Linked DNA regions of Homo sapiens: regions 1, 2, 3, 4, 5 and 7 are each linked to region 6. The links are contacts of gene promoters, found by promoter capture Hi-C in blood cells and fetal thymus (Javierre and others, 2016). All regions are on one chromosome and are shown on one strand. The core of a region is centred on a gene start or on the middle of the fragment in contact, and the rest is flanking DNA. Distances in the headings are between cores, read along the strand shown. Region 1 has its middle 2.8 kb from the start of EIF1. Region 2 has its middle 11 kb from the start of KRT16. Region 3 holds the start of LOC124904004 (a long non-coding RNA gene). Region 4 overlaps KRT17 (keratin 17). Region 5 has its middle 14 kb from the start of KRT17. Region 6 holds the start of KRT23 (keratin 23). Region 7 has its middle 7.6 kb from the start of LINC00974.

Region 1 (3,685 bases), core at 1,182-3,681, 750 kb before region 6:
GTAAGAACTACGGGCTGCAGTGGCCGCTCACCTCCAGCCCATTGTGCTAGATCTTTTTCAAGAGTGCCAGGAAATCCAGGTGTTTACATAAAATCTCTTGATTTTTAAATATTGCCAATAAATTGATTTTTTTTTTGAGACAGAGTCTCACTTTGTCGCCGAGGCTGGAGTGCAGTGGCACTGTGTCGGCTCACTGTAACCTCCGTCTCCTGGGTTCAAGCAATTCTTCTGCCTCAGCCTCCCGAGTAGTTGGGGTTACAGGCATCCACCACCACGCCCGGCTAGTTTTTTAAAAATATTTTTAGTAGAGATGGGTTTTCACCATGTTGGCCAGGCTGGTCTTGAACTCCTGACCTCAGGTGATCTGCCTGCCTCGGCCTTCCAAAGTGCTGGGATTACAGGAATAAATTGAATTTTTGATACAACACTGCAAGCCAAACAAAAATATGCATGCCCATGGACTGCTGGTTTATGTCCCTGACAGTCAGGGTCACTGCCCTTGTGGAGTTGAAGGCCAGCGGGAGAGAGAGCCACTAAACAAATAATAAGATAATGAGGCTGGGCGCTGTGGCTTATGCCTGTAATCCCAGCACTTTGGGAGGCTGAGGTGGGCGGATCACCCGAGGTCAGGAGTTCGAGACCAGCCTGGCCAATATGGTGAAACCCTGTCTCTACTAAAAATACAAAAATTAGCTGGGCGTGGTGGCGTGTGCCTGTAGTCCCAGCTACTCGGGAGGCCGAGGCACAATAATTATTTGAACCCGGGAAGAGGAGACTGCAGTGAGCCAAGATGGCGCCATTGCACTCCAGCCTGGGCGACAGAGCAAGACTATGTCTCAAAAAAAAAAAAAAAAGGATAATGACAGATTGTGAGAGGTGCCAAAAAGGAGGTAAACAGGGTGATGTGAAAGGGCCAGGCTCCTTCAGATGGGGTGGTCAGAGAAGGCCTCTGGGGAGGCAGCATTCTGGCTGACAGAGGGTAGGAAGGAGTCCACTGTGGGGCAGGGCATGTGCCCACCAGAAAACTCAGAAAAACTCTGAGGGAGGAAATGCTAGGTGTACCTGATATATATATGTGTATGTGTGTGTATATATATATATATGTATATGAGTGTGTGTATATATGTGTGTGTGTGTATTTGTGTATATATGTATATATATATGTATGTGTATATATATATATATATAGACAAGGTCTCACTCTGTCACCCAGACTGGCTGGAATGCAGTGGCATGATCATGGCTTACTGCAGCCTCAACTGCTTAAAGCAGTCCCCCTGCCTTGGCCTCCTAAAGTGCTGGGATTACAGGCAGGAGCCAGTGTGCCTGGCCTGATACTTTGTTTTGATTCTATATTTACTAAATAAACTTGATTAATAGTTTGGTTTCCTTGACATCAGGAAGGAGGAACCATGGCTAGGTCATGGGCATCCCAGTCTCATGGTCTTCCCCTTTTGAGAAGCTAAGGCCCCAGTCAGCCAACTTGGGAACCTTTACTATCAGGCAAAATTCACCCCCGACATTTCACGTAGGTTCTTCTCTATTTTCCTTAAGTGTTGGCTGGTCCGAGAAATAAAGGGACAGAGTACAAAAGAGAGAAATTTTAAAGCTGGGTGTCCGGGGGAGACATCACATGTCGGCAGGTTCCATGATGTCCCCCAAGCCGCAAAACCAGCGAGTTTTTATTAGTGATTTTCAAAAGGGGAGGGAGTGTACGAATAGGGTGTGGGTCACAGAGATCATGTGCTTCACAAGGTAATAAGATATCACAAGGCAAATGGAGGCAGGGCAAGACCACAGGACCACAGGACCGGGGCGAAATTAAAATTGCTAATGAAGTTTCAGACACACATTGTCATTGATGATATCTTATCAGGAGACAGGGTTTGAGAACAGACAACCGGTCTGACCAAAATTTATTAGGCGGGAATTTCCTCGTCCTAATAAGCCTGGGAGCGCTACAGGAGACCGGGGCTTATTTCATCCCTCAGCGATGACCGTAAAAGACAGCTGTCCCCAAAGTGGCCATTTCAGAGGCCTCCCTCAGGGACGCATCCTCTTTCTCAGGGATGTTCCTTGCTGAGAAAAAGAATTCAGCGATATTTCTCCCATTTGCTTTTGAAAGAAGAGAAATATGGCTCTGTTCTGCCCGGCTCACGGGCAGTCAGAGTTTAAAGTTATCTCCTTTGTTCCCTGAACATTGCTGTTATCCTGTTCTTTTTTCAAGGTGCCCAGATTTCATATTGTTCAAACACACAAGCTCTACAAACAATTTGTGCAGTTAATGCAATCATCACGGTCCTGAGGCTACATACATCCTCCTCAGCTTATGATGACAGGATTAAGAGATTAAAGTAAAGACAGGCATAGGAAATCCCAAGGGTATTGATTGGGGAAGTGATAAGTGTCCATGAAATCTTCACAATTTATGTTCAGAGATTGCAGTAAAGACAGGCGTAAGAAATTATAAAAGTATTAATTTGGGGAACTAATAAATATCCATTAAATCTTCACAATTTATGTTCTTCTGCCATGGCTTCAGCGGGTCCCTCTGTTGGGAGTCCCTGACATCCCACAACACTTTGCCCTGACGGACATTGTTCTGCTGGAAAGGGTTTTGGGAGAGAGTTTGAATGAATGAATTGGAGCTGTCCTTCCCAGTGTGCATGCAATATTTTGTCACACTAAAATATTTTTTGAGACAGAATCTCGCTTTGTCGTCCAGGCTGTAGTGAAGTGGTGCGATCTTGGCTCACCACAGCTTTCACCTCCTGAGTTCAAGCTATGCTTCTGCCTCAGCCTCCCAAGTAACTGAGATTACGGGCAGGTGCCACCATGCCCAGCTAATTTTTGTATTTTGGGTAGAGAAGGGGTTTTACAACATTGCCCAGGCTGGTCTTGAACTCCTGACCTCAAATGATCCGCCCGCCTTGGCCTCCCAAAGTGCTGGGATTACAGGTGTGAGCCACAACACCCGGCCAAGACTCAGTTCTTTTTTTTTTTTTTTTTTTGAGACAGGGTCTGGCTTTGTCACTTAGGCTGGAGTGCAATGGTGCCATTATAGCTTATTGCAGACTTGAACTCCTAGGCTCAAGTGATCCGTTTCAGCCTCCTGAGTAGCTGGGACTACAGGCATGTGCTACCATAGCCAGCTAATTTTTTAAATTTTTGGTAGAGATGAGGTCTCACTATGTTGCCCAGGCTGGTCTTGAACTGCTAGGCTCAAGTAATCCTTTACCTCGGCCTCCCAAAGTGCTGGGATTACAAGCATGAGCCACCGCACCAGGCCTGAGACTCAGTTCTTGACTTGCCACCAGCTTTGTGGGTGACCTGGTTTACCTCTTGGCTTCAGTTGTATGCCCCATAAAAGGAGCACTGGGTGATCTCTTCCTGGGTCTGAAGTCTGAAGCGCTGTTTTCCCAAGTTGGGAGCATTTCCAGAAGGGTCTTCCGAAGTCTACCTTCCAGTGTGGGAGGTTACCCCAGCCCCAGGAGCCTGAGGAGTAATCATGGAGGCAGGAGTAATTAGTTTGAAAGTGGCATGCATGCCTGCTGTTAATGCTGGCTTCTTTATTAGTGTGCTCCTGGCTTTGAGATGCTGTCACCTGGGCAGCCAAGGGCAGGGTACAAAGCACAGGCTCTGGAGTGTCTGTATCTGAATATCATCTCCATCTTGTTGCCTGGGC
Region 2 (3,534 bases), core at 352-2,851, 660 kb before region 6:
TTTGGTAAATTGATTCAGCTGATTCTTTTAAAGATGATGTTGTGGAAGGACCCTTACACAGAGACATAGTCCTGGCCTGGGTTACTAAACAACTCCTGGGCTGGCACACACTTTCATGAGTTGTTCATTAATGAGATGTCAGAACAGAGGATGTAGAATACCCTCCAACTGGGCATGCGGTGCTATTTTATTTTATTTTATTTATTTATTTATTTATTTTTTGAGACAAAGTCTCACTGTCACCCAGGCTGGAATGCAATGGTGCGATCTCAGCTCACTGCAACCTTTGTTTCCCAGGTTCAAGCAATTCTCATACCTCAGCCTCCTGAGTAGCTGGGACTACAGGTGTGTGCCACCACACTCAGCTAATTTTTTTTTTTTTTTTTTGTATTTTTAGTAGAGACAGGATTTCACCATGTTGGCCAGACTAGTCTCAAACTCCTGGCCTCAAGTGATCTGCCTGCCTTGGCCTCCCAGAGTGCTGGGATTACAGGCGTAAGCCACCATGCCCAGCCTGGGCATGGGTGCTATTTTAAAGAAGTTGTCTGTACCCGTATCTTCCGAGTGCCTAACCCCCAGGAGCAGATCCTTGGAAAGCTCATCACGAAAGGCCTCTACCTGACAGATGCAGAAATTCAGGTTTACAGTAGTTAAAGGAAAATTAAAAAAAAAACTTTCTTGGGGTCTCACAGTCACTTAGCAAAACTCCCGGAGAGCAGAAATCACTTATCTCTTCTTCATTGCTGTTATCTTGTAGAAACAAATCATGAGCCCCTTTTAAACAGAAGGACAATATTGTGCAGAAATATGAGTTTTCCCTTCAATAAGGGAACCAGAATTTCCATCTGGAAATGGCTTGCTGCCTGGATTTCTCAAACTATGATTCAAGCCCCAAATCAGACTGCCTTTTGCTCTTGCCTGGTCTTTCCCACTTCCTAAGATCCTGGCACCTGAGCTGAGAAGGTTGAGAACTCCCAGTGTTCCTTGAAATCTGTCTAATTTGAAGGTACCTTCAGATTCCTTATGCTTGACTTACTGTCAAAGTTCGGCAAATATTGTTTTAGATAATTGCATGAGGTGCAAAAACAATGACTAGAGTGAGAATTAATGGCAGCCCATAAAGTGCATCTGCTGTTGTAAATGAATGAGTGGTATGCTTGTAAAGCTCTGCTTTCTTTGGGTCCATTGTTTCTGAGAGCTCTAATAAGCTCAGTGTCCCTCCTAGTGTATGAGATAAGCAATTTCTTGTGCTTGTCTTTTCACTGCTGTAGCTTGTTGTTTAAGACCTTCTGTCTGCTCCCCGAAACATAAACAGTAATGAAACTTTTGTTTTGCTAGTTACCAACAGCCCCTGGATGGTACCCAGCCCATAAAGGACACTCAGTAAAGACTTGTGGAGTCAGGCCGTGGAGGTTTGGTTTAGAAGTCTCTGCTCTTTCAGGACTCCACAGAACTTGCTCAGAAGAATTTCTTGAGGGCAGGCTTCTCTGGGTTCCATGTGCTTCTCATTGTGTTGGCACAGGGAGGTCTCCATGGGTAGGTATTGACAAGCTGGCATGGATGTGAAAGCAAATATCTTCTTGAGCCCTGGAGGGATGGAGCCCCATCTACAGAACTGAGGCATGAGGCAGTGGAGCTCCTTATCTGGCCCCTCCTCTGATGTGCTGTCTGCATCCTGGAATCCCCAACAGTCCAAGACCCCCGAAGGGCTTTGAGCAGATCAAGGGGTGTTAAAGCAATAGTGGCAGCTATCCAGGAGACGCCATTTCTGACTTCACCCCTAGTTAACACACTGTTGATTGCAAGGGTCCCTCTTTCTCCTACCATGTTAGGATTGTTACACATAAAACTCATGCGTCGGCCTGGTGCTGTGGCTCACGCCTGTAATCCCAGCACTTTGGGAGGCCTAGGAGGGAGGATCACCTCAGGTCAGGTGTTTGAGAGCAGTCTGGCCAACATGGTGAAACTCCATCTCTACCAAAAAATACAAAAATTAGACAGGCGTGGTGGTGCGTGCCCATAGCCCCACTACTTGGGAGGCTGAGGTGGGAGAATCGCTTGAATCAAGGAGGTGGAGGTTGCAGTGAGCCGAGAGTGTGCCACTGCACTCTAGCCTGGGTGACAGAGTGAGACCCTGTCTCAAACAACAACAACAAAAAACAACAGAAAAAATCCCATACGTCTCTAGCTTTTATCTACCATATGAATAGTGTGACGAAACAAAAGGAAATATAGAAAATGAAAACACTCATCCATTGTTCTGTCACCAGACCTTTTATTCTACCAGGTTCTTTTCCAGCTTTGTTATATGTGATTATACAGCAAAGATGACTTTCAAATTATTTAAGGGACTTCACTTAATTTTAAATTAATAGAAATAACAGACCAGTATAAAAAGGCATATGTGCAAAGATATTTACTGCTGTTTATTTGTAGTGACAGAAGGTGGCAAACACATTTTTAAAAGTTGATAGTGGACAGGTGGAATAAATAATGGTCCACTGCTACCCTGGAGTATTAAGCAGCCATTATAGTCAATAAATTGGAGCTATTTATTGGATGGCAAGGAGGGATTCCTCCAGGGATTGGAGAGAGAGAAATGTGGAATGCAGAAATGTACATGTAGGATATTGATTTCACTTATGTGAAATAAACAGCCAACCCCTCATCCCTCATTTATGTAAATGCATGTGCATGTGTCTGTGAGATTATATAAGCACCAACAATATGAAAAGATACATACAGAGTTATGAACATAGATTACTGTGGGGGTGGGGTTGAAGGCTGATGTGGGTGGCAGTGGTTGAGGGGAAAAGGGGAGCCAAGAAAAACAGGAAAGGAACAAAAAGAGTGCACACACATTTTAATACATGTGCATAAAATTGTGTGTGTGTGTGTATATGAATAAAGAAACTAAACAACAATTTAAGAACCAAAGAATCAATTAATTTGTTGAATACCACATCGACTTCCTAATTAGAAACAGATTGCATGCACTAATATTCTGGCCTGTCAATTTTATGTGATCATAAAATAGATTTTTAATTTACTTTATGCTTAGATAATAATATAACTATACAAATTAAAACTGATAACCAAGAGAAAACATTTTTTAAAAAGATCAGATCACAGTCCTTTGCAGGAGGTAGTGTCGAATAGCTGGGGGGAGGGCAGAGGCTAACCTGAAGCTGAACTTCCAGCGTGAACTTGGAGGGATCCTCCACCCGCCCCTGGTCTCTGTGAGTTTCATTTTCCTCATCCGTACATTTAGGGTATTAGTATTTATCTGAAGGAGTTCATTTGAGGAATAGAGGAGATAAAGGGTGGATAAAACACACAGTATGTACCCAATAAACATTTTTTGTTGCTTCCCTCTCCTGTTTGACAATTTTTAATGTTGCCCAACCCTTTATTGCCTGATTTGATTCTGGCAGCAAGGCTGCAGACAGGCAGCTGTGTTCTGCTTCCTAAAGATGAGCTGGAGCAAATGCCTTCTCCCTGCATGCTCCCTGCAAGGCCTCCTCGCTATCTCCA
Region 3 (3,806 bases), core at 1,259-3,758, 720 kb before region 6:
CTGGCCACCCAGCCCCACACCCAGTCCTCTGGTGGCTGGTGCACCTGTGTGGGCAGGCCTCTTCTGTTTTGCCACCTTGCAGCTTCGGAGGGCAGGTCTGGATCAGACTGGCATTAGCTCATGCGCTTATCCAAAGCACACAAAGCAGAGATCTAGGTCTCAGCATTTCCTGGGGGTGTCCGGAGCCGTGGTCAGGGCCCAGAGACCGTGTCTGTGTGTGGGGTGCTGAGTCGCTCCTGCTGGGGTTCAGTCCTTTCCTTCGCCCTTCACTGGCCCCCATTCCATGTCTCAGCCTGGTCGCAAGGCCCTCAGAGACTGGACCCTGCTGTCTCTCTCTCTCTCTCTCTCTGTCTTTTTTTGAGTAAGCAGAGGGGTGTTTATTGACCTTGAGACAGGGGAGCTCTCGCCCTGTGTGGGAGGCCTGAGGGGCTCCAGAGCCCTGGGTTTCTTCCTTGCTTGAACAGAGGTGGTCCGGAGTGGTGCGTTGTGTGGCCCTGGCTCCGTGTTAAGTTAATGGCTGGGTAGGACGGAACCCTGGACTCCTGCCCCTGGCCTGTGTTCTTCCTGTGGTTCCAGGTTCAGAACAGCAAATGGCAAGGCCCCTGGCTCTGAGGCCGGGTGGTTTAAGGAGGTGGCGATGTAGGGAATGTGGGTTTGAAGGCCCTGGGCCCAGGTAACAGGATGAGTCCAAGCAGGGATTCCAAGTCTGCCGCAGGGACCCGCCCGGTGCCAGAGTCCCCTGACAGGGAAGCCCCCGCCTCTGCCCCACCACATCCTTCCCCTGAACGCGCGGCTGCAAAACCACACTGGAATTCCCGAGGGTCAGTGCCGAAGTGGTCCCAAACTGAGGAGGACACTATGCATGGGGACAGAGGAGGGGGCCATGGGGTAAGGGGGACAGGAAAGGCCATCACAGCAGGGCCCAGAGGGGAACTGACCCAGGCTGAGCAGGAGTCCCAAGGAAGGGCCCAGGTGCTGCCTGCCACCAGGACCCCCGCATTACAGAGGCCTCTCTTGCAACAAGAAAGCTTGGAACTCATAGAGGTGTCCAGAACCTCCACATTCCAAATGATGGTATCATTCTTGGGGCAGGAGGGAAAGGAGGCAGAGCCTGTTCCCCACTCTCACTTTCCCAGATGCCACAGGGACCCAGACTCCCTGTGTCTCTCATATCCCGAGACGCAGACCCTGTCAGGGAAGGGGCATGTGGCAGCGGGGCAGGCATGCCTGTGCCAGGCTGGGGCCACCAAGCACTGGTGGCAGCATAGACCTTGGGGTCTCTCTGTGCACAGCAGGGCCACCAGCAGGGCCAGGGCAAAGGTCTTCATGGTGTGGGAACTGCTCATTCTCGCTCTCTCTGGCCGGGCTGCAAGGCAAGTGGTCCCTTCCCCTGCCCCGCCATCTTTTGGCCTCACCTTCCTCCCTCCCCATGGAAGGCCCACACTCCTGTGTTCCTTGTGGCACTGCCTGGTCACAATCTCAAGTCCTCTTCCTTTCTTCCCTACCTGCACCCCCCACCCCCTAATTCAAGCCTCGGCGTCTCCACCCTCCCCAAGCCATCCCTGCCCCATCAACGAGGGCCAGCTCTATGCCCCTGATGACCTGCCAGCCTCCTGAGCCAGGCTGTGCACTCTCTGACTGCCAGGCCAGCCTCTGTCCTGCTTCCCCTACTTCCTGCTCAGAGCCGGTCATGCTGAGGCTGCGATGGAGACCTGGGAGCAGGAGGCAGCAGGGGATTCCTTGGGCTGTGGCTCTCATCATTGCTGAGAGAGGGAGAAAGGGCCCGGCCATTCCTGACCACAGCCCTGGGCTCCTGCACTCAGCCGGGCACTCACTGCATGCCAGCCTCAGACAGGGCAGTAGGGCCGCCTGGATGTGTACTGAGCCCTTCCAGCCAGGGCTTCAAGGCCGGGTCACAACTCCCGGCTCAGTGCCCAACTCCTCAACCCCTCAGCATCCACCTGCCCAGCTCATGACAGGGAGGACAAAACAAAGGAGGCCCCTGTGGGACTACACAGGCCAGCTCCTGACACTATATAGGTGGGGAAACTGGGGCCCAGAGAGGGGCGGTGACTTGTCCAAATTCATGGGCCCAGAGCTGGGCTCCTAGGCCTCTCTCCCGGGCGGCCTGAGTTAGGCCGTGGTGCCGTCAGTCCCGGAAGGTTGGGACACCCACGGCAGTACCTGACTTGCCGGGGCCCAGCCTCCAGCCCACAGCCCTGCTTTGAGCAGCAAGGGAGGCTGCCCCGCCCCCAGCGTCTCCTCCTGCCTGACTGAGTTTCCCAGAGCCAGCAGAAAGGCAGGGCCGATGCAGGTCTGAATCCGCCCAGGGATCTGGCAGTCCCAGCTGGCTTGCCCTGCCCTCGAGCCCTGGGAGCGGGAAGTGAGCCTCCCCACCTCAAATCCTCCACCTTCCCTGCCACCCACACCTTCAGCCCGGGGCCCAAACATGGCAGGGAGCCAGGCCCCTCACCTCCCTCCTTGGTAACCGAGGCAAACACCCAACACTGGAGACTGTTTGTCCTGCCAACGCTGCACCCCAACCTGAGCCCAGACGCCCTGCCGCAGTTGGGAGAAGCCTGGCTGGGGGAGGGGACGTGGCAGGGGCAGCCAGAACCTGTGGGCTTGGGGACCCTTCCCCTCCACTCCAGTTCCCCAGGAGCTTCTGAGTGAGCACAGGGCAGCGGGGCTGTTGTCTCAGCACCTTTGACTGTGAGGCCCCCAACCTCAGCCTCTGCTCCACCCCTAAGACTGTGCGCCCGGAAGGTGGAGAAGGGCTGGCTGGGGTGAGAGGGTCTGTGCTTGAACTACAGCAGAGAAAGAGAGCAGAGGGAGAAAGTTCTCTCTGGCCAGCCCAGCTGTGGGAGGGCTCAGGGAGGGAGGCCAGTGGGCCCTTTCTTTGCAGGCAGGGAGGGATGGGAGATTCTACCAGCGCCAGACCTGGGGGGCTCTGCCTCCTGATCCCCAGGGTCTGGGTGGGCACCGTGAGGCACTCCAGCGTCGCGTTTGGGGGCTGGCTGGGTGGGCAAGGAGGTGGATGTCAGGGCCTGGGGAGGCTGGGGTAAGGTGGCGCCAGGAGGGGACGGGCAGTTTTTCTGGCCTTCACTGGCCTGTGGTTTCCGCAGTGCAGGGCATGGGACTGTGGGGCGATGGAGCAAGGAGGATGGAGTTTCTGTCCCTGGGAAGCCTCTTGTCTGAGGGGAGACATGCCCCGAGCCTTCAGGGACCGCCTAGTCGGAGGGGGAGACACAGCCCTTGTCCTGGGGAGTTTGGAATAACCGTATTGGGGCCAGGGACAGAGGATGATGGAGTCACCCTGCTCTGCATGGAGCACGGGACCACCCGGCCTCACGGGGCTGGGCAGACGCTTCTGTTTCTTCTGCATGGAGCACGGGATCACCTGGCCTCATGGGGTTAGGCAGACGCTTCTGTTTCTTAGGAAGAGGTCTGTTTGCTTCTCAAATGCTTCCCGGGAACCTCCTCCACCACTGCAGCCCTGCACTGTGGGCAGGAATGTCACTAGCCCCCTTTTACGGATGAGGAAACTGAGGCTCAGGCATCTGGGAAAATGTGCTGTGGGCAGCCCCCCCGGACAGAGCTGTGCTGGCACCCTCCAGACAGTGCAGGAGAAGGGCAGGTCCCACAGAGTCCCTGCTGTTCCCCCAAGTCCTGAGGCCAGGGGGTGCTGTCTCTACTCTCAGTCCCCTGCCAGGACCTGTCCCCTGGTTCAATCCCAGGCAGGCCAGCGGGGAGGGTGGGGTGGGAGACTTGGTTCTGCTGAGGCTGCAGCTTCCCTGGCCCACCTA
Region 4 (3,460 bases), core at 75-2,574, 680 kb before region 6:
CCCATTTCAAACTCTCAAAGCTGAACATCTACATAGAAGCTTGGAAATTAGAGGGGAACTTTTGGGGGCATAGGCCTAATAATTAGATTTTATTTTGGAGAGTCCTTGGTCTAATGGGGGAGATAGAGTCTGATGGTGGAGGCAATACTGAGCAGATGAATAAAAATCATTTAGAGGGTCAGATAGAGCAGAGGGAGAACAAAGGAGGGGTCCTTGTGGGAAGTGGGGTCCCCTTGTGGGGGAAGGCTTGGGAGTGAGAGGTCAGGATGGGTCCAGATGCGCACATCCACATCCCCTTTTTCCATAGGAGATGAACGCCCTGCGAGGCCAGGTGGGTGGTGAGATCAATGTGGAGATGGACGCTGCCCCAGGCGTGGACCTGAGCCGCATCCTCAACGAGATGCGTGACCAGTATGAGAAGATGGCAGAGAAGAACCGCAAGGATGCCGAGGATTGGTTCTTCAGCAAGGTGGGGGGTGCTGCAGGCCAGAGGGCTCTCTTAGGGGCTGGGGCTCAGGGGCCTTAGCACTGACAGTAAGCCCACGGCCAGATGTCTTGGAGGTGCCCCTCCTCAGTAAGCTGCATGGACCACAGGGTCACCCACTGCATCAACAGACATGGAGCTGAGCTCAAGCTGGGATCTGGCGGGTGGGTGGGGAGGTAGGGAGCTCCCTCAGAATAAAGGCAGAGGGTAAAGACCTTGGGAGTCCCCACGTCTCCCTCAAGAAGTCAGGAACTAGCATCAAGAGCCAGGCTACATGTTCTGGCTTGTTCTCAAGTTTCCGGTCTGTGCCTCCCACACGCTGGGATTAACCATAAAAAGTTAACATTTCAAATGGCATGTTTCTGGGCTTTGGGATGTGGGAAGCTGGTGAGAAGGCACACTCTCTCCACAGTTAGATTTGGGAGGAGGCCTGACTTGGGAGAGGGATCCAGGCTCACACCGCCCTGTCCTGTGTCCTGTCTGCAGACAGAGGAACTGAACCGCGAGGTGGCCACCAACAGTGAGCTGGTGCAGAGTGGCAAGAGTGAGATCTCGGAGCTCCGGCGCACCATGCAGGCCTTGGAGATAGAGCTGCAGTCCCAGCTCAGCATGGTAGGAACAGTCCTGTGCATGGGGGAGGGCCCAGAAGAGGGCATTGACCATCCTCACTGACCCCTGGTCTTCCTGCCCTCCTGCAGAAAGCATCCCTGGAGGGCAACCTGGCGGAGACAGAGAACCGCTACTGCGTGCAGCTGTCCCAGATCCAGGGGCTGATTGGCAGCGTGGAGGAGCAGCTGGCCCAGCTTCGCTGCGAGATGGAGCAGCAGAACCAGGAATACAAAATCCTGCTGGATGTGAAGACGCGGCTGGAGCAGGAGATTGCCACCTACCGCCGCCTGCTGGAGGGAGAGGATGCCCAGTGAGTGGGGGCGCCTGGGGTCAGGGCTGGGGGTCTCTTGGCAGGGGTGGGGCTCTCAGACCCACATCTAATTTCCTCTCTGTTTTTTTTTTTCTTTCAGCCTGACTCAGTACAAGAAAGAACGTAAGTATCTGCGTGGCTTCGGCCCTGGGGGTTGGGTGCATGGGACAGGCAGCCCACCTGCACGTTGCTGGGGCAGGGTCCCCAGGAGCTCCAGGAGTTGATGGCTGTCCCTCAGCAGGGAGAAGTGACTCATTAGCACTGAGGATTGATACTCAGGAAAAGATCAAATGAGAGAGACACTGTCTGGTCTGATGGGGGTGGGGCAGGGAACTGGTCCTTACCTTGGAGATCCTAGTCTGATGGAGGAGACAGGTCCCAGCTCTGGAGATTGTCATCTGATGGGAAGATAGGAACATGGTCTCATGATCTTTGCTCTTGACAGCTTTTGGATGAGCAAAAACAGTCCTGTCTCTGGGGTCTGTAGCCTGATGGGAGATAGGGACATGGTCCTTGTCCTCCAAATTCCAATCTGATGGAGAATATATGATCCTAGCCTTAGGGTTCCTAGTCTAATGGAGGAGATAGGGGCCTGGTTTTTGTCTTGGCGATCCCAGTCTGATGGGGGAGATGGTAGAAAATCTATGTCCTAGAGACTGCAGAGAAATGGAGACGGATTTCATGGAGTCTACATGGCTCCTCCCTGGCAGGACACACTGGATCAGAATCAAATAACCCATCTGGGGAGGCAAGACTCACACAGGGCCACCGGCAGAGGGATGGGATGGAAGGGAGGTGGTGGCAGGGACAGGAGGGATGTGTGTGCAGTGTGATGTCGAGGTGCCAGTGGAGGCACTCACAGCACCTGGGGGAGGATGAGGGAGAGAGCCGGCTCCTGTCCATGAGGGCTAGGGGGCAAGCGAGGGCCTCCTGGCCCCTACCCACTTTAAATTGCCTGCTTCTCCTGCAGCGGTGACCACCCGTCAGGTGCGTACCATTGTGGAAGAGGTCCAGGATGGCAAGGTCATCTCCTCCCGCGAGCAGGTCCACCAGACCACCCGCTGAGGACTCAGCTACCCCGGCCGGCCACCCAGGAGGCAGGGAGGCAGCCGCCCCATCTGCCCCACAGTCTCCGGCCTCTCCAGCCTCAGCCCCCTGCTTCAGTCCCTTCCCCATGCTTCCTTGCCTGATGACAATAAAGCTTGTTGACTCAGCTATGAAATGTGTCCTTGTTCTGGCCCCTGAAGTGGGGACTAGGGACAAAAGGGTGAAATGGGAAGGAGTGAGGGTGAGGGGAGATGGTGCTTGGAGACCCACCGTTGTTGATTGGCAGGTCAGGGGTCAGCTTAGACCGGCATAAAGAGTAAGTCTGGGGAGAGTTTGGAAGGGGGTGCTTGCCTCTCCCAAGGGCTGGAGATTTTCAGGGGGTGGTCCAGGCTGCGCTAGACCTGGGGTGGAGTTGGTGTATCAGGTGCGGTCCTAGGTGGCCACTGCTTGCCCTGTGAGTAGCTCTGTGACCTCGAGAAGTTAGGCAGTCACTTCCCCTCACTGAGCCTTGCTTTCTCATCCATAAACGGATGGGAAGATCTCAGGTGTGGGAGCCTGAATCCTCAGAGATGACTCACTCAATCAGTTGTTCCTCCCGGTCCTGTGGGCCGTGCCCTACCCCTAGATGGGGCAGGAGGTGGGCAAGGGCTGGGATAAGCACAAAGGGAGGGTGGGTGGGGGAGGCAGGCTGGGTGGTTGGGGCCCAGACTCCTGTGTGAGTCTCAGGAAATCCCCAAGAGAGGCCCCCATTGCCTCCGCCCTGGGAATGTGAGTGGGAGGCTGGCGTTTTCAGGGAAGGCTACGGACCCCAGGCAGGTGTGGGAGAAAGGGTGGGGCCTCTCTCAGGGATGCTTCCTCACATGGTCAGCTGTTGCTCGGGATGGGGACGGGGTGGAGTGGGGGGGCACTGCAGATGGGGTGGCTGTGCCCAGGGAGCAGTGCCACTCTCCCTGGCAGTCTGGGTCCTCTTTGGTTCCCCACTAGGGACAGGGGTGGCGTGAGGGAGGGTA
Region 5 (3,793 bases), core at 371-2,870, 700 kb before region 6:
AGTCTCTACTAAAAATAGAAAAAATTAGCTGGGCGCGGTGGTGGGCACTTGTAATCCCAGCTACTCTGGAGACTGAGGCAGGAGAGTCGCTTGAACCCAGGAGGCGGAGGTTGCAGTGAGCCGAGATCAAGCCATTGCACTCCAGCCTGGGCAACAAGAGTGAAACTCCGTCTCAAAAAAAAAAAAAAAAGTCTAGTCCTTTCATTCTGCAGAGGAGGAGGGTTTGAGCCTAAAAGAAGAAAAATGACTTGCCCAAGTTGGGCAAGAGTCCAGATTTGACCCCAGGTTCTTGGACTTGGAGCTCTTTGCATGACATCATAGAGTGTGATCATAGCTAACACAATGCCTGACCCTGTGGTTGTGAAGATTAGAAACTCTGGTCCCTCTCCATGAAACTTTGCTGAAAAAAGTGCGTCAACCAGAAACACTCAATAACAAGGCTCCCAGGGACCCTGGGTTCTGAGGCAGAGATGGCAGGGACCACAGTGCTGCAGGAGTTTAGTGGAGGGAGCTTGCTCCTGGCTGGCTGGAGGGCAGCTCAGCTTCCTGGATGGAGGAAGCAGGCCTGTATGGCGGGCTGGGGCTCAGGCAGAACACTCCATGGAGCCCAGGCCTCTGCAAAGGAATGCTCCTGCCCTGTTCTCCTGTTTTGCCCTTGGAAAGGATAGATGATGGCTTGCTCTGGTCCTCGTTCCCTGGTCCTCCCTCCCCTAGTCCTCTCTCCCTTGGTTCTTCTCCCATAGCCCTTCCTCTGCTGGTCCTCCCTCCCCCAGTCCTCCTCCCCTGGTCCTCTTTCCCCTGGTCTTCCTACCCTAGTCCTCCCTCTCCTCATGCCCTTCCCCTGGTCCTCCTTCCGCTGGTCTTACCTACCTAGTCCTCCGTCCCCTCTTCCTCCTCCAGCAGTCCTCCCTGCCCTGGTCCTCCTCCCTCAGTGCTCCCTGCCCTGCTTCTCCTCCCTTGTTGGTCAGTCAGGTGTGTCACACTGTGGTGGGCTGGGTGGTCAACACCAGGACAAGGAGTTGAGAGACCCCCTTCACATCAGGGAGAAAGAGCTCCTATGTCAAGGGAGCCCCCAATCTGAGGGGGAGACATGGCTGCTACCTTGAGGAAGTGTCCAATTTAAGGGAAGAGACACAGTCTCTGTTTTGGGGAGCCTGGCCTCATCTGCCCCTGGAGAAAGCCACTCAAGAGCATTGCAGAGCAGGCGCGAATGAGCGCTCATCAACAGGGAGAAACCAGCCTCCCCAGGGCGCAGGGAGGGAGGAGCGAGCTGGTAGCTGGGTCGGGGAGGGAGGTGCAGCTGGGGGTTTGGGGTCTGCAGGGTGGGAAGGAGCCTGGAGTCCCCTTGGTGTCTCTGACTCCCATTTCCCCAGGCCCTCAGGTTGCCCTCAGCCAGGCTGCAGGGCAGAGTGGAGAGGGGGTGTGAGCCTGAAAGGGGAACCCACTGGAGTTTCTGCCTCTCACTCACCCCTATGCATCTCTCAGGCCAAGGAAGCGGTGGGGGAAGTGAAAAGAGGGAGGAAAAAGAGGGAGGGAAGGGCAGAGGGAGGGAAAGACAGAGGGAAGGACAGAGGGACGAAGCCGTCTGGTCAAGACTCCTCTCACAGGAGTCTTCACCCTGTGAGAGGCAGTGAGGTGTCCCACGGGTGACCCCCGAGGCCTGGGTTTCCTGTCCGTGATGTCCTCCCCACTCATTCCCACTGGTCCCCAGCCTTCCCTCCCTCCCTCCCTTGCTCTGTCCTCCCGCCCTGGGCCTCATCCGAGGCATTCAGTCCTCTAGGCCCTCTTTTGGGAAGGGCCCCTGGACAGCTGATGTGCTGCCTGGAAGGGTGGGGTGTTCCTGGGTGTCCGTATCCTACGTCTTGGATCCGCCACAGGCTGACAGTTCCTGGAAACCAGTCAGAGGTGAGTGAGGGGTGCAGAGGGGAAGAAAGGCTGGGTCCACTTACCCCTGGGTAGGGGAGCCCCTGGCCAAGCCCTGGGTATACAGGGGGTGCTGGGGGATCCCCTTACCTCTGTCTCTTCAAACTGGGGCAGAGGCTCAGGGCACCCAGCAATGTTCCGAATCTCCCAGGGCCCTGGGAAGGTGGAGGGTGGGAGGATCTGGGTGGGGCCGCCTGGGGCCTCAGGATAGAGGCAGGAAACAGAATAGAGGAAGCAGGATTCCACCTGTGGAGGCGGCAGGTGTGGCTGGGTGAGGGTGCACTTCTCAGGCGATGCTGGGCCAGGGGTGGGAGTGCCTGGGGGTGAGCGAGGGGCAGGAGATCTGTGACCTCCAAGGGCCCTGCAGGTGACAGGGGCTCTGTGTCTGAGGGGTGAATGGAAAGGACCCCAGTGGGTCTTAGTGACAGGGGACTAGGGGTGGAATGAGGGTCTCTGGGGTTCTCTCCTCATCAGCGAAGCCAAGGTCTCAGCTGGGAGCCCGTTCTGGGCTCCAGGGCCTCTCACTTTCCCTGACCACCTGATACTGACCCTTTTCCTTGAGGGGAAGGGTAGGTGGCCATGTCCCTTTCCTGGGACCTTGTCTCCTCCCCAGTCACTGCTCAGGCTCCATGACCCTAACAATTCAGCAAGCACTCACAGAGCACCTGCTGCATACAGCCCGCGCTGGTTCTGGGCAGGGGTGTGGGGTATGGGGTGGGCACCATCCTAAGGGTTGACAGTTAATCCTTGCGGGGGCTCGTAGGAGCCAAGGCCAGCTGGGCAGACGGGGCATGACCTTGTCTTTTTGTTTTTTCTTTTGTTTTTTTGAGATGGAGCCTCGCTCTGTTGCCCAGGCTGGAGGGCTGTGGGACGATCTCAGCTCACTGCAACCTCCACCTCCCGGGTTCAAGCGATTCTCCTGCCTCAGCCTCCTGACTACCTGGGATTACAGGTACTACCACGCCTGGCTTATTTTTGTATTTTCAGTAGAGTCGGGGTTTCACCATGTTGGCCAGGCTGGTCTCAAATTCCTGACCTCAAGTGATCTGCCTGCCTCGGCCTCCCAAAGTGTTGGGATTACAGGTGTGAGCCACTGATCCTGTCCAGACCTTGTCAACCTTGTCAATATCAATATGCATCTATTGGCTGGGCGTGGTGACTCACTCCTATAATCCCAGCACTTTGGGAGGCAGAGGCAGGAGGACTGCTTGAGCCCAGGAGCCTGAGACCAGCCTGGGTAATATAGTGAGACCCCATCTCTATTTAAAGTAAAAAAAAATGCATCTATTGAACATCTCCTTTCCATAGGGCCCCAGATCATTCTACGCCCTCTGCCTCCCCACAACATAGTAGGGGTGATATTAGGGGACACTGTCCCCAAACCCTAGCTCTGCTCAAATTCCAGGCAGGTCCTGTCTGTGCTGCGCTCTCCAGCATGCTGGCTTTTCTGCACTCTCTGCAGAGGAGACTGAGGGGGAGTCAAGGTGGGGCTGGCACCCAGGGCACTGGGGGAAGCTTCAAGTTCTCCCAGCCACCTCCCTGGGCCTCCCCCTCTCCCACCTGCGCTGGGCTCCAGCAGCCTCTGGGGCTGGAAGAGCCATTGGACCTCTCCTTCTTTACCCCTTTGTCTTCCATGGGGGCCAAGCTGCTGCCGCTGCCGGGGCTGCAGGCCTGGGCTGCCCCTTGCGGGTGCCAGGGATCTCTCCCTGCTGGGGGTGGAGGACAGGCCCAGACAGGATGTGCCACAGCCCAGAGGACCTCTGTGTGGCCCTCCAGCCGGCCCCTGTCAAGCCTTCCTCCCTGGCTGGGAGAGTGGGAGCTGCCGAGGCCCTGGCTTCAGGCCCGGCTCTGATGCCAACATTGGGTTGCC
Region 6 (3,874 bases), core at 681-3,180:
GGGCAGGGTGGCTCATGCCTGTAATCCCAGCACTTTGGGAGGCCAAGGCAGGCAGATCATGAGGTCAGGAGTTCAAGACCAGCCTGGCCAACATGGTGAAACCCCGTCTCTACTAAAAATACAAAAAATTAGCTGGGCATGGTGGTGCGCACCTGTAATCCTAGCTACTCGGGAGGCTGAGGCAGGAGAATCGCTTGAACCCAGGAGGCGGAGGTTGCAGTGAGTCAAGATTGCGCCATTGCACTCCAGCCTGGGTGACAGAGCAAAACTCCATCTTGAGAAAAAAAAAAAAAGAAGTTATGGGAAACCATCATATAACAGTACTAGAAGAGACTATTTCTCCCCAGTGCTCTCAGATCTCACCACCAGTTTTTCCTGGCCCTGGTCCTGCTATGACACAAGAAATCTTTTGCTCAAGGATAAGTCCTATAAATCAAAACTCCCACACATGGACATAAAATGAGACAGTGGCCAAATCTATGGGGTTGATAAGTCACTGCCACTCAGACATGCCTGAAATAATTAGAGAAGCATTAATTTCATTGTAGATTCTGGTGAGAGAATTTAGAAAAAGGCAGTGCAGCCCGGCCCTTGCACATGCTAAAGGTAAATGTTTTCTTCCTTGGTAAGTCTGGGTCCAGGCGAACAGGAACCAGAGCTGACCATAACTTTGATGACCAGGAACCGTCCACATCCACAGAACACTGGTTGCCACCACTCGCCAAACAAGTCTCTCTAGTTCCCTCATTTGCTCTATTTTTATCACTTGTCTCTTTTGTCTTTTTCTCATATCTGAGATGTAAGTGACTGTCGGCACTCTTTCTAAGCACTCTCCAAGCTTCCCTGAGGCTTGGAGGCTCATTTTTCCAGCTCGTGCACAGTGAAATAAAAAATATTCAGAGACTCTTCCCTGATAAGGTTTTGTTGTAAGACTGGGAGGAGCAGAGCTGGTGTGCTTTTGGGTGGCTTTATTTGTAATTGGAAAAGATTGGCCTTCATGGATGGTTAATCTATACCCAGGAGAGGCGTTTTCCTACTTTCTAGTTCTATAACTCACAGTCCTAAAAGGAGCAGAAGTTGATGGCATCAGGAGACCTGTGTTAAAATCCTGACTCTAAAAAGTTTATGATTGAGTCAACATACATTTGCAAAATACCACCAAGAAACCAGACTTTGGTGCTCAAAAATGGAAGACATAAACTCTGCTTTCAAGAAGCCTGCGGTCTCAGAAGGGTGTGGCAAATGCAGTATAATGGAGTGAAAGAACGGAGTGGACTTCATCCCAGGCACAGGAGGTGGCTGCGCCTGGCTAGGGGCTCCCAGCTTCCACCATGAGGTGGGATGCCAAGGTGTCTGCCCCTCTGGAGGACCTCGGCATCCAGAAGAGGCAGTTTCCTCCTAGAGGGTCACCCAACTCATGCAGGAGAATTCAGAAAATGATTGTTGAAGGAGGTAGCCCTTGAACTATAGAAGAGGTAGGGGTGAGTGACTTTCCAGGCAGGGAGGACAGCACAGACTCGGGCAGTGTCACCTATGAATTCATGTGCTCAATTACACTGTACATGCGAATCAGCTCTGGATCATTCATCCCTATGAGACCCTGATTCTTTGTCTGCAAAATGAAGACAACAACCCTTGCCTGGATACATAAAGAGTTGTGAGGATTCAATAAAGAATATAAAAGAGCTACACCAATTGGCAAGTCCTATTATTATGAAAGAGAAGTGTGGTACAGGACCTGTCAAGATTCAACCCAAGATAACAGTGCTATGTGGAGAAAGAATCTAGCCCTGGCTCTGCCACTAACCTCCCCACCACCATAGGCCTCAGCTTTCCTCATCTGTCCAATTAGTGGCTTGGAACCAGAAAGGCCAGAAGCCCTTCCTGCGCTGATATTTTATTTGTAAGTCCCCTTTAAATCCAACTGCCAGTAACTAGCACGTGGCTCCCGCCCCCAGACTGCTTCTTTATTCATTCCTAACCTTTACCTTGGCAGATGAAATATAAGATTCATCAACCACATTTGACAGCCCATGGCAGGTTTCCTGTTTTCCATCGTCCCTCTGCAGGTCACAGACACACAGAGCCCAGCCGTGGCAGGCTCAGCCGGGGTCCGGGGCTGCTAACAACGGCTACATTCCTCCCCCAGGGCCAAGGGAAATCCTGAGCGCAGGCCAGGGTTGTTTGGTTTTGAGGTGTGCTGGGATGAAAGGCACCCTGGAAGTGGAAGGTTCGGTCATTCATTAATTAATTACATCTATAATTGAGGGTTTGTTCTTAAGAGCGAGTCCTTTGAAAGTACTTTCCTTCAAACAGTGACTGCCACAAAGGCATCAGATATTCACCACCTTCTCGGCTGCCTCAGCACAGCAAGCTTTATTCTGGGACCTGAGATCCTGTTCTGAGCTGGCTTTCCCTTCTCCAGGCTCGCTCACCCTCCCTTTAGAGGTGGGGCTTATTGGGGGTGGAAAAAGGTGTGTGTATCTCTGTTGTTTAATGTCTGGTTTTTTGTTGCTGTTGTTGTTGTTTTGTTTTGGTTTTGGTTTTTGGTTTTTTTTAAGGAAATCTATACTACATCGAATATGCTTTCTTTTGGGTGGACTTTAACCTAACCCATTCCAGGTAAATGAACAATGGAAAAACTTCACGGCAAGATTAGAAAGATACCTGAGCCCAATACCCGCCTGATGTCGTGGGCCACACCTCCGGGTTACCAGGGGAAGGGAGGAAGCAAACTGTCATATTGATGTGGCTCTAAACAACAACAGTGTGCGAAGGCCCAGGGGCACTTTGGGATTGACCAAGAGGAAACACAAGTTGCACAATGATACAATCTTGTTGGTACAATTGTCAGAGAAGGGAACTCCCACAGCAAAGGCCATAAAACCATCCAGGGCAGTCTGGGGCGGCTCAGTTCTGCGGTGCCAGGGAGTGGAGCAGAGCTCAGCCCCGTCCCAAACACAGATGGGACCATGAACTCCGGACACAGCTTCAGCCAGACCCCCTCGGCCTCCTTCCATGGCGCCGGAGGTGGCTGGGGCCGGCCCAGGAGCTTCCCCAGGGCTCCCACCGTCCATGGCGGTGCGGGGGGAGCCCGCATCTCCCTGTCCTTCACCACGCGGAGCTGCCCACCCCCTGGAGGGTCTTGGGGTTCTGGAAGAAGCAGCCCCCTACTAGGCGGAAATGGGAAGGCCACCATGCAGAATCTCAACGACCGCCTGGCCTCCTACCTGGAGAAGGTTCGCGCCCTGGAGGAGGCCAACATGAAGCTGGAAAGCCGCATCCTGAAATGGCACCAGCAGAGAGATCCTGGCAGTAAGAAAGATTATTCCCAGTATGAGGAAAACATCACACACCTGCAGGAGCAGGTAAGATGCTGGGTGACCCTGGAGATCCAGATGGGGCTGCTTTGCCAGGGGACCCTCGGGAGGAAAAATGAGTCCAGAAGACAATTTCCAGGAAAATGGCATCAGCGCTTGAAGTAATTGTGCACAAAGGTTTTGGGGGATGTTTTCTTATTATATCTTAAATTTGGAGTGGGAAACGTCTGTTTTGTTTAATTAGTCTACTGTCCATGGATAATGTAGAAAAAGAAGGCAGCAAAAATGATAGAAGTGCTACAGACTGTTTCAAAAATGAGACTACTGATTTCTCACAGACCAAAAACATCTTTAAAATGTGAGGCAACCAGCTGCTGTTTAATGTCACTTATGACCCAACGATGTCATAGAAATGATAAGGGCTGGTGTTCATGCTGCATGCTCAGTGCACCAGGCATAAGAGAGTGTTTACTTTCTCATTACCTCAGTTCTGCTCCACCTCAAACTTTTTTGAACAATGTGGTTATCCATCGACAAAAGGCTGTTACACTATT
Region 7 (3,814 bases), core at 625-3,124, 620 kb before region 6:
GGAGATTGCAGTCCTCCAGCTGCAAAGACCTGAAGTTTTCCAAGATCAAAGAAGAATTTGGAAGCAGATTACCCCCAGATGAGAATTCAGATGAGAGCTTAGCCTGGCTGACATCTTGATTTCACCCTTGTGATATCCTGCAGAGAGAATCCAATTACGCCTGTGGAACTGTCAGCTAATACATGGGTGCTATTTTAAGCTGCTGAGTTTGCAGTAATTTGTTAAGCAGAAATAGAAAGCAAATACAGACCCCGTCTCTAGATGGAGGTGTGTCCATGTCACGTTGAAGAACAGCATATGCAATGGGATATATTGATGTGGTCATTTTTGGAAAACACAAATTGCCACAGGCTGGCTCAAATCACTGGCAGAGGGGTTATGTAAGAGTACACTTAGGGAATGAAGTGACACAGAAACCCAGGGGGATTCAAGATCCTGGAATTTGTGGATATGGGAGCAGGCAGGTCATCAGTGTCTCTGGGTCAAAGGTGGCTCTAGCAAGACACCTGAGCAGTGAGAGTCTGTGATCTCTTTTCTAGCGCTCCGCTGTTAATATGCAACTGTTTACTCTTCTCTGGTTCTTTTTCTGCTACCTGCTGTCTTCCTCATCTACCATTTTACATATCTTTTTATTTATTTTATTTATTATTATTATTATTTTTTGAGACGGAGTCTCACTCTGTCGTCCAGGCTGAAATGCAGTGGCACGATCTCAGCTCAATCCAACCTCTACCTCCCGGGTTCAAGCGATTTTCTGCCTCAGTCTCCTGAGTAGCTGGAACTACAGGCACCTGCCACCACGCTGAGCTAATTTTTGTATTTTTAGTAAAGACGGGGGTTTCACCATGTTGGCCAGACTGGTCTTGAACTCTTGATCTCAGGTGATCCACTTGCCTCGGCCTCCCAAAGTGCTGGGATTACAGGTGTGAGCCACAAGGCCTGGCCCATTTTATGTATCTTTTCTCTACCTCAATTTGGGAAATTCTCCACCTTAAGTGTGAAGCTCCCCAAGGGAGAGGTCAGAAACTTGCTTTTCCGAGCTCACCTGCATCTAGGGCATGGGCCCCTGACAGCCCTGCCACTCAGGTGCGCCCGCACAAGACGTTTTTTTTTTTTTTTTAACCATGGCACCCCATTGGAGTGAAGGACTTTGATTTTGATTTAAAGGAGGTGCTGAGTGGAATTTTTTATGGCAGGAACAAGGTTGGGCAGAGATATGTGATTTTTTGAGGAAGCAATAGCAGCGGCTCTGGCAAAGACATGCAGTGCCCATCATCCATAGTTTGAGCTTCAATTTTGGTGGCCAGAAGTGACAGCAGTGGTGTGTTCCTAGAGCAATCCTTGAGTGTGATTTGGGGAATTTTTCTGTTTGCATACCCTCCAAGTTTGATTCTCTGCACATCCTGGAAAAGATGCCCAGTAGTTGCTCATTATTTCACAGGGAATACATTCAAAGATCCTGACTGGATGCCCAAAACTGTGGATAGCACCTAAATCTATCTACACTATGCTTTTTCCTACACATTCATACTTAAGATACAGTTTACTTTATAAATTAGGCAGACCAAGAGATTAACAACAATAACTAATAAAATAGAATCGTTATAACAATATACTGTAATAAAAATTATTTGAATGTGGTCTCTCTCTTTCAAAATATCTTATCATACTGTAGATCTTAGCAACCTCAGCGTATGGTTTTTTTCTTTCCGTAGTAAGTTTTGAACTGTCATCTTTTCTCTTAAAGAAAGCATTTTGCTGGCTGGGCGCGGTGGCTCATGCCTGTGATCCCAGCACTTTGGGAGGCCAAGGCTGGAGGATCACCTGAGGTCAGGAGTTTGAGACCAGCCTGACCAGTATGGAGAAACACTGTCTCTTCCAAAAATACAAAATTAGCCAGGCATGGTGGCGCATGCCTGTAATCTCAGGTACTTGGGAGGCTGAGGCAGGAGAATCGCTTGAACCCGGGAGGCAGAGGTTGAGGTAAACCGAGATCACGCCATTGTGCTCCAGCCTGGGAAACAAGAGCAAAACTCCTTTTAAGAAAAAAAAAAAAGCACTTTGTGGCTTCCCTTTGGCAAATCTGAATTATCAGCATCACTGCTCTTGCACTTTGGGGTCGTAATTAAGTAAAATAAGGGAACACAAGCACGGCAATACTGCAACAGTTGATCTGACAACTGAGACAGCTACTAAGCGACGACTAGTGGGTGGGTGGTGCATAGAGCATGGAGAGCTGGACAAAGGGATGATTCCTGTCCTGGGCTGGACAGAGTGGGGCAGTGTGAGATTTCATCATGCTCTTCAGGGCAGCACACTTCAAAACTGACAAATTGTTTATTTCTGGAATTTTCCATTTAATATTTTTGGATGACAGTTGACCACAGGTAACTGAAGCTGTGGAAAGCGAAACCATGGATAAGGGGAATGACCGTGTTGCTTTCTCTGCAGGTGAAAGCATATTTATTCTGGTACTCTTTGTTTATTGGGATAAAGAAAAAAGAATTTCCCACAGCAGGTGCCAGGGTCAATGGTGATCTGCTTTAGAAAAGGGACACAATCTGGATCAACGACTGCTGTTGGAACAACCATGTGATAAATTGTAAAATAATTCATGGCTATTCTCTAACATCTGTTCATGTTCTGCACAGAAAAACTAGGCAAGTTAACCCTAAATTTATCATTTTTTTTTTGAGACAGGGTCTCTCTCTGTTGCCCAGGCCGGTGGGCAGTGGTACAATCACAGTTCACTGAAGCCTTGACCTCCCAGGTTCAAGCAATCCTCCTACCTCAGGCTCCCAAGTAGCTGGGACTACAAGCGTGTGCCACCACGCCAGACTAATTTTTGAGGTTTTTTTTTTTTTTTTTTTTTTTTTTAAACTAGAGACAGGGATCTCACTCTATTGCCAGGGCTGATCTTACATTCCTGTGTTCTCTCCCCATCTTGCCCTTCCAAAGTGCAGGGATTACAGGCATGAGCCACCACTCCTGGCCCATCAAATCTTTCATGTGGCACTAATCTCTGTCATTCCCTTAGAGATGTAGTGTTGCTGGTCCTTTTTCTAAACCACGTAATCCTTACTGGTAAGGATCAGGATCCTTTTACTGACTATGTCTAGTCCACTCCAGACACTGGGAAATAACCACAGGATTGGTCTGGGATACCACTGGGCTCATGAGAAGCAAACTTGGGCTAAAACTCCATTTGTCATCTGATCTCTATATTGGTTAGATTCTCAATTGCAACTACCAGAAACTACTTTGCCTATTTTAACAAGTAAGGGATTTTCAAGAGCTCTAGATACCTTAGAGAATCATTAGGAGGGCTGGAGAAACAGAATCTAGGGTGATTTTTCCAGAACCCTCCAAATGACAAAGCAGAGTGGATCTGCCAAAGGAGTTGTTGCCTCTGCCAAGACCATGAAACCACCAAGTCAGATTGGAGCCTTCTGAGTCCATTCTGCACTAATTCTGGACTCAGCTGGAGTTGCAGAGCCACGCTGCTTCTGCTGTCCATACCAGTAAGCTGGATGTCCCAGGTGAACCTCATTTCCTCACCTACTTCCCTTCTAAACCAAGTCCACATGGGTGCGTCTGACTAGTAGAACCTAAATTGCTCAGCTCATCTTAGTGGCAAGGGAGGCTGGTAAATGTAGTTTTTAGATCTCCCTGGAAAAGAATAGTGACAAGATGACAGATACAACCTACACTCACATGAGCTTCCATTCTAACTGGGGAACCACAGTATTGCTCTGCATTTTCAGAGATTAGAATTGGTTTGGAGCCAGCGTCCAATCATCCCTAAAGGCCTGGG

The links. The method cuts DNA at HindIII sites, captures the fragments that hold promoters and counts their contacts. A CHiCAGO score of 5 or more calls a contact.
Region 1: a contact is called between a fragment that was not itself captured here and the fragment with the promoter of KRT23 in region 6, in 1 of 17 cell types (M1 macrophages). The highest score is 5.8, in M1 macrophages.
Region 2: a contact is called between a fragment that was not itself captured here and the fragment with the promoter of KRT23 in region 6, in 1 of 17 cell types (total CD8 T cells). The highest score is 6.2, in total CD8 T cells.
Region 3: a contact is called between a fragment that was not itself captured here and the fragment with the promoter of KRT23 in region 6, in 12 of 17 cell types (naive CD4 T cells, activated CD4 T cells, non-activated CD4 T cells and 9 more). The highest score is 11.2, in naive CD4 T cells.
Region 4: a contact is called between a fragment that was not itself captured here and the fragment with the promoter of KRT23 in region 6, in 3 of 17 cell types (total CD8 T cells, naive CD4 T cells and activated CD4 T cells). The highest score is 7.9, in total CD8 T cells.
Region 5: a contact is called between a fragment that was not itself captured here and the fragment with the promoter of KRT23 in region 6, in 10 of 17 cell types (non-activated CD4 T cells, total CD4 T cells, activated CD4 T cells and 7 more). The highest score is 14.2, in non-activated CD4 T cells.
Region 7: a contact is called between a fragment that was not itself captured here and the fragment with the promoter of KRT23 in region 6, in 8 of 17 cell types (naive CD4 T cells, naive CD8 T cells, non-activated CD4 T cells and 5 more). The highest score is 10.7, in naive CD4 T cells.

What each region holds. Positions count from the first base shown.
Region 1 is chr17:41,684,228-41,687,912 of GRCh38, reverse strand. No RefSeq gene overlaps it. Among named protein-coding and RNA genes, the nearest start is that of EIF1, 2.8 kb to the left of the region's middle. The HindIII fragment of the contact is 6,365 bases long and covers 1-3,685 here.
Region 2 is chr17:41,600,365-41,603,898 of GRCh38, reverse strand. No RefSeq gene overlaps it. Among named protein-coding and RNA genes, the nearest start is that of KRT16, 11 kb to the left of the region's middle. The HindIII fragment of the contact is 9,356 bases long and covers 1-3,534 here.
Region 3 is chr17:41,654,386-41,658,191 of GRCh38, reverse strand. It overlaps LOC124904004 (a long non-coding RNA gene), which reads left to right and starts at 3,058. Exons shown (of 2, transcript XR_007065756.1): 1 at 3,058-3,806. RefSeq lists an enhancer at 3,247-3,806. The HindIII fragment of the contact is 2,956 bases long and covers 1,031-3,806 here.
Region 4 is chr17:41,618,602-41,622,061 of GRCh38, reverse strand. It overlaps KRT17 (keratin 17), which reads left to right. Exons shown (of 8, transcript NM_000422.3): 4 at 308-469; 5 at 971-1,096; 6 at 1,183-1,403; 7 at 1,504-1,526; 8 at 2,374-2,620. The coding sequence ends at 2,468. Among named protein-coding and RNA genes, the nearest start is that of KRT17, 4.2 kb to the left of the region's middle. The HindIII fragment of the contact is 2,565 bases long and covers 42-2,606 here.
Region 5 is chr17:41,636,799-41,640,591 of GRCh38, reverse strand. It overlaps the pseudogene KRT42P. Among named protein-coding and RNA genes, the nearest start is that of KRT17, 14 kb to the right of the region's middle. The HindIII fragment of the contact is 3,640 bases long and covers 1-3,440 here.
Region 6 is chr17:40,935,702-40,939,575 of GRCh38, reverse strand. KRT23 (keratin 23) reads left to right here and starts at 1,930. Exons shown (of 9, transcript NM_015515.5): 1 at 1,930-2,230; 2 at 2,623-3,368. The coding sequence starts at 2,973. The region is part of intron 1 of LOC107985072 (a long non-coding RNA gene); the gene reads right to left. The HindIII fragment of the contact is 1,536 bases long and covers 841-2,376 here.
Region 7 is chr17:41,560,176-41,563,989 of GRCh38, reverse strand. No RefSeq gene overlaps it. Among named protein-coding and RNA genes, the nearest start is that of LINC00974, 7.6 kb to the right of the region's middle. The HindIII fragment of the contact is 7,476 bases long and covers 1-3,814 here.